2 separate regions of the Homo sapiens genome follow, and region 2 is linked to region 1. The links are contacts of gene promoters, found by promoter capture Hi-C in human tissues and cell types (Jung and others, 2019). All regions are on one chromosome and are shown on one strand. Each heading gives the region's core, a stretch centred on a gene start or on the middle of the fragment in contact. The rest is flanking DNA. Distances are from core to core; before and after follow the strand shown. Region 1 holds the start of PPP1R37 (protein phosphatase 1 regulatory subunit 37). Region 2 overlaps CKM (creatine kinase, M-type).

Region 1 (2,727 bases), core at 103-2,602:
CAGGATTTAGGTTGGCAGATTCGTCTCTCGCCTTTGGAATTTCTACCTTCTCCTAGGTTTTGTTTTTTAAAATCAGGCCTATGATACCGCTCATGGGCTCATATTTATTTTAGCATTGTAATTTAAGTTGTATTTTATGCAACTCTACCCCGATACAGAGAGCTGTTGATGTAACTGCAGCGAGCAAATGGAGGACTAGAGACTAGCGAAGGGGCCGAGACTTCGTCTCCAGAGTATCCCTGTCAGCATCCATCAACTGCACTCATATATTGAATGCAGCTCCTATCCGCCTTTCTTTTCGACTTCTTCATGCCGTTACCACTCTTCATCAGTTAGTCTAGCCTCAATGTTTTCATTTATTTCCTTTGTTTTTTTTGGGGGGGGGGGAACGGAGTCTTGCTCTGTCGCCCAGGCTGGAGTGCAGTGGCACGATCTCGGCTCACTAAAAGCTCCGCCTCCCGGGTTCACACCATTCTCGTGCCTCAGGCTCCCGAGTAGCTGGGACTACAGGCGCCCGCCACCACGCCCGGCTAATTTTTTGTATTTTTAGTAGAGACGGGGTTTCACCGTGTTAGCCAGGATGGTCTCGATCTCCTAACCTCGTGATCCGCCCGTGTCGGCCTTCCAAAGTGCTGGGATTACAGGCGTGAGCCACCGCGCCCGGCCCATTTCTTTCCTTTCGTTGAGACAGGGTCTGGCTCTGTCTACCAGGTCGGAGTGCAGGGGCGCGATCATAGCTCAGTGCAGCCTCAACCTACCGGGCTCAAGCGATCTTCCCACCTCCCAAGTAGCTGGAACTACAGGCTCCTGTAACCAGACCCTGCTAATTTTTAAATTTTTTGTAAAGACGGGGCCTTGCTATGTTGCCCAGGCTGGTCTCGAACTCCTGGACTCAAGCGATCTTCCCGCCTCAGCCTTCCAAAGTGCTGGGATTATAGGCGTGTGCCGCCGCGCCCCGCCAGGTGTTTTCAGTTCTATGCACTCCATTCCCTGGGCTCTTGACGAATGTGCGGGAGCTGAATATTCGTTATTTGGACTCCGGCAGGAAGGCGTGGGCTCAGCTTCGCGCTTGCGCGCTGCTCTTGGAGACGGCGTCTACTTCGCCCCGCCCCTCATAGTCTGCAGTTCCGGCTCTGCAGATTCGCTGCTCACGTTTCTTTTTTCCGTGGCCCTTCCTGCCCTTTGTTTCTCTCTTCATGTCACCCGCGGGACAACTCTACGTGCAAGTCGCTGAAATCGATTTTCTGCTTCTTATAGTAAGCGGCGGGCTCGCCAGCCTCGAGCGAAAGTGTGACTGCGAACGGGCAGGCGCGCGCGGGGCTCGGCGGAGGCGCGCTTGGGCTCCCGGCGGCGACGACTACGACCACTAGGAGAGCGGACGGAGGCGGCGCCTGAAGCGGCGGCGGAGCCCATGCCCCGGGACGGCGGGCGGACCCGGAGAGACAAATCCGGGGCCCGGGGCATGTCCCCGGGGCCCCCGTGAGGAGGCGGCGGCGGCTATGGAGATCGCGCCGCAGGAGGCGCCGCCCGTGCCGGGCGCGGACGGCGACATTGAAGAGGCCCCAGCTGAGGCCGGGTCTCCCAGCCCCGCGTCGCCCCCCGCCGATGGGCGCCTCAAGGCTGCAGCCAAGCGCGTCACATTCCCGTCCGACGAGGATATCGTGTCTGGAGCAGTGGAGCCCAAAGACCCCTGGAGACATGGTAGCTACCGCGGGTGAAGCGGGGGCGGGCTCGAGAGGGACCCGGGAGTCGGGAGGGATCGGTGCAGGGCCCGGCTCGAGGTGGCGTTCAATAGATTGCACCTAATGGTGAATAAGGGGACAGTCGTCAGTTTAGAACCGTAGTCTGTTAGAAAGGGGGTGGCTATGGAGTTGGGAAGGTGAAAAGTATCTGGTTTCTGCCGCACCCCACCCACCCGAGACAAAGATGGTGATCGTTTTAGGGTTTAAAACGATGAGCAATTAAAGAAAGTTTGGTGTTTTGTCAGATGTAGAGTGTGGCAGCCTTTGCGTTCGTAGTTCCACCAGAGAAGGAGAGAAGGAGCAGTTGAGAGGAGGAGCGGGTCAACACTGGGCCTGAAAGGGCAGTTGAAAGAGTTTGATGGGTCTATGGGGGTAAAAAGAGGTTAAGTTGCTGGTCTGCAAGCCTTGGGGCAAGGAGTGGTCGTGTTGGCCACTTTCTTGGCTGGAAAGAGGGAGACTATAAACTTGGACTGTGGCTATAGAGGACTTGGTAAAAAGGAGTCAAGATAAGGTCCCAGAAGAGGAGCAGAGGTGGTGGTCAATTTGTGGTTGGGTGAGGGAGAAAGAGGCAGTGTGGTTTTTATGTTTTCTTTTTTATTGAGACAAGGTCTCACTACATTGCCCAGGCTGGTCTCGGACTTCTGGGTTCAAGCTGTCCTCCCTCCTTGGCCTCCCAGAGTGTTGGGATTACAGGTGTGAGCCACCGCCGCCTGCTGCAATGTGGTATTAAGAAGAAAAGCCAACGCCTACCGCCGCCTCCTCCTCCAAAAAAAAGAGAAGCAGAAGGAAGGCTGTCAGTCATTCAGGAGCAGAGGATGTTTGGGACATGGCTACGGAAGGGTCCTCTTGTTCCTTCCTGAGAAAGAATTGGGGGATGGCCGGGTGCATTGGCTCAGGCGTGTAATCCCAGCACTTTGGGAGGCCAAGGTGGGTGGATCACCTGAGGTCAGGAGTTTAAAACCAGCCTGGCCAACATGGGGAAACC
Region 2 (3,126 bases), core at 293-2,792, 220 kb after region 1:
CACCCGCAACATGGACAGGGTCCGGAGGGACAGGGCGTGGGAACGTGGTGGAGGTGGGATTCTGAGGGGAACAGGGAGGTAGGAGATTCCGAGGGTGCTGGCTAGACAATGGGGACCAAGGCAGGATTTTGAGGGGCGGGGACTAAGAACGCTTTGAAGGCGGGTTTTTTTTTTTTTTTTTTCCAGAGTCTCTCTGTGTCACCCAGGCTGGAGTGCAATGGCGTGATCTCGTCTCACTGCAACCTCTGCCTCCCAGGTTCAAGCGATTCTCCTGCCTCAGCCTCCCGAGTAGCTGGGACTACAGGCGCGCGCCACTACGCCTGGATAATTTATTTATTTATTAATTTTTTAGTATAGAGACGGGGTTTCACCATGTTGGCCAGGCTGGTCTTGAACTCCTGACCCTCCTCAGCCTCCCAAAGTGCTGGGATTACAGGCGTGAGCCACCGCTCCCGGCCTGAAGGCGGATCCTTACGGGCGGGGCTTGGGCATAGGGTGGAGCTGGGTCCAGGGGCGGGGCCCTGAAAAGCGGGTGGGGCTAGTTTTGGGGGGCGGGGTTTGGCATGGGGTGGAGCCAGGTCCGGGGGGCAGGGCCCTGGAAAATGGGTGGGGCAGGGCTTAGTATAGGGGAAGGGGCGGGGCCTCGGAAAGCAGGTGGGGCGTTCAAGGTGGAGTCAGAAGTCAGCAGCTAAGGGCAGACACCCACCTTCTGCAGCCCTACGCAGAAGCGGCGGAAAACCTCCTTCATGTTGCCCCCCTTCTCCATGGAGATGACCCGGAGGTGATCCTCCTCGTTCACCCACACCAGGAAGCTCTTGTTGTCATTGTGCCTAGAGTAAGGTGCCGCAGCAAGAGGCCAAGGTGTCAGCCCCGTGGGAACCCCATTCCCAGCCCTCCCCCAAAACATCTGCCCACCGATGGGGGAAGAGGGCCTGAGGGGTGGGAGGTGGGTGGCATCTGCCTCCTCAAAACGCAGAAGCTTAAACCTGTAGACTCTAATGTCACAGGATCTGCAAAACGCTGAATCCTGGGATCAAGGACTTTTAGGGACTTAAGTCTTTGAACAGTATTATTATAGATCCTTGGGATCTCAGGATGTTTGACAAACAGAAGCTTGGGATCAGAACTGATAACACTTGGTAATCCTACATCTGGTTTCAGGACCAGAAAATCTTCCCATCGTAGTGTGTTAGCTCCCAATCCTAGCATCTCAGAAGCAGGATCTTAGAACATAAAATATTAAGGCTGGGTGCGGTGGCTCACGCCTGTAATCCCAGCACTTTGGGAGGCCGAGGCGGGCGGATCACAAGGTCAGGAGATCGACACCATCCTGGCTAACACGTCGAAACCCTGTCTCTACTAAAAAATACAAAAAAAAATCTGGGCATGGTGGCGGGCATCTGTAGTCCCAGCTACTCAGGAGGCTGAGGCAAGAGAATGGCGAGAACCCGGGAGGTGGAGCTTGCAGTGAGTCGAGATCGCGCCACTGCACTCCAGCCTGGGCAACAGAGCGAGACTCCATCTCAAAAAAAAAAAAAAAAAAGAACATAAAATATTAAGATCCGGAAATGGCCGGGTGTGGTGGCTCATGCCTGTAATCCCAGCACTTTGGGAGGCCAAGGCCGGAGGATTGCTTGAGCCCAGGAGTTCAAGACTACCCTGGGCAACATGGCAAGACCCACATATCTACAAAATTTAAAAAATTAGCAGGCATGGTGGGACACATGCCTGTAGTCCAAGCCACTGGGGAGGCTGAGGCGGGAGGATCACTTGACCTTGGAAGGTCCAGGCTGCAGCGAGCTATGATCCCACCACTGCACTCCAGCCTGGGCAACAGAGCAAGACCCTGTCTCAAAAAAAAAAAAAAAAAAACCTGAGGGCAGGCATGGTGGCTCACGCTTGTAATCCCAGCACTTTGGGAGGCTGAGGTGGGCGGATCACTTAAGGTGAAGAGTTCGAGACCAGCCTGAGCAACATGGCAGAACGCTGTCTCTACCAAAAATACGAAAACTAGCTGGGCACAGTGGCACATGCCTGTCGTCCTAGCTACTAAGGAGGCGGAGGGTGAGAGGATCGTTTGAACCCGGGAGATGGAGGTTTCAGTGAGTCGAGATCAACCCACTGCACTCCAGCCTGGGCCTCAGAGTGAGAGTCCATCTCAAAATAAATAAATAAATAAATGAGTGGAATCTTAAAACCTAAAAATATTTAAAATCTTGAAATCTTAGAATCATCCCATCTGTATATCTTAGCACCCAGGCTCCCTTCATCGATTGAAACCTAGGTTCTCTAAATCTTTGACTATCTGAATCAGGGATTCAAAGAGTCAAAACAAGTCTAGCAATAATACTTTATAATAAAGATAAGACGAATAACCAAGATGTACTGAACACTTAGTGTATACCAGGCACTGCTTTTTTTTTTTTTTTTTTTTTTGAGACAGAGTCTTGGTCTGTCGCCCAGGCTGGAGTGCAGTGATGCGATCTTGGCTCACTTCAAGCTCCGCCTCCCGGGTTCACGCCATTCTCCTGCCTCAGCCTCACGAGTAAGTAGGACTACAGGCGCCTGCCACCAAGCCCAGCTAATTTTTTGTATTTTTAGTAGAGACGGGGTTTCACCATGTTAGCCAGGATGGTCTCGATCTCCTGACCTCGTGATCCGCCCGCCTTGGCCTCCCAAAGTGCTGGGATTACAGGCGTGAGCCACCGCGCCTGGCCCAGGCACTGCTTTTAATACTTTACATAAATTAACTCATTTAATCCTCACAAGAACACCAGAAACTACAAATTATTGTGATCCCTATCCTATAGCTAGGAAACTGGGGTAGAGAAAAATAAAATAAGTTGCCCAAGGTCACAAAGCTAGTAAAGTTAGTAAATGGTAGAGCTGGGATTTGAACCTAGGGAGTACGGTTCAAGTCTGAGTTCTTATTTTTGAGACAGGTAGCTGGAGTGCAGTACCTCGGTCATGATTCACAGTAACCTCAATCCTCTGGGCCCAGCTGATCCTCAGCCTCTCGAGTAGCTGGGACCACAGGTATACGCCATCACGCCTGGCTTTTTTTTTTTTTTTTTTTTTTTTTTTTTTTTGAGACGGAGTCTCCTGTCGCCCAGGCTGGAGTGCAGT

Evidence for each region. The method cuts DNA at HindIII sites, captures the fragments that hold promoters and counts their contacts. A contact is called where the count stands out against the background at its distance.
Region 2: a contact is called between a fragment that was not itself captured here and the fragment with the promoter of PPP1R37 in region 1, in 1 of the 25 tissues and cell types used here (adrenal gland).

The regions. Positions count from the first base shown.
Region 1 is chr19:45,091,827-45,094,553 of GRCh38, forward strand. PPP1R37 (protein phosphatase 1 regulatory subunit 37) reads left to right here and starts at 1,353. Exons shown (of 13, transcript NM_019121.2): 1 at 1,353-1,701. The coding sequence starts at 1,500. RefSeq lists an enhancer at 956-1,005 and a silencer at 1,426-1,635. The HindIII fragment of the contact is 15,616 bases long and covers 1-2,727 here.
Region 2 is chr19:45,307,703-45,310,828 of GRCh38, forward strand. It overlaps CKM (creatine kinase, M-type), which reads right to left. Exons shown (of 8, transcript NM_001824.5): 6 at 707-830. Among named protein-coding and RNA genes, the nearest start is that of CKM, 14 kb to the right of the region's middle. RefSeq lists a silencer at 828-985. The HindIII fragment of the contact is 3,883 bases long and covers 1-3,126 here.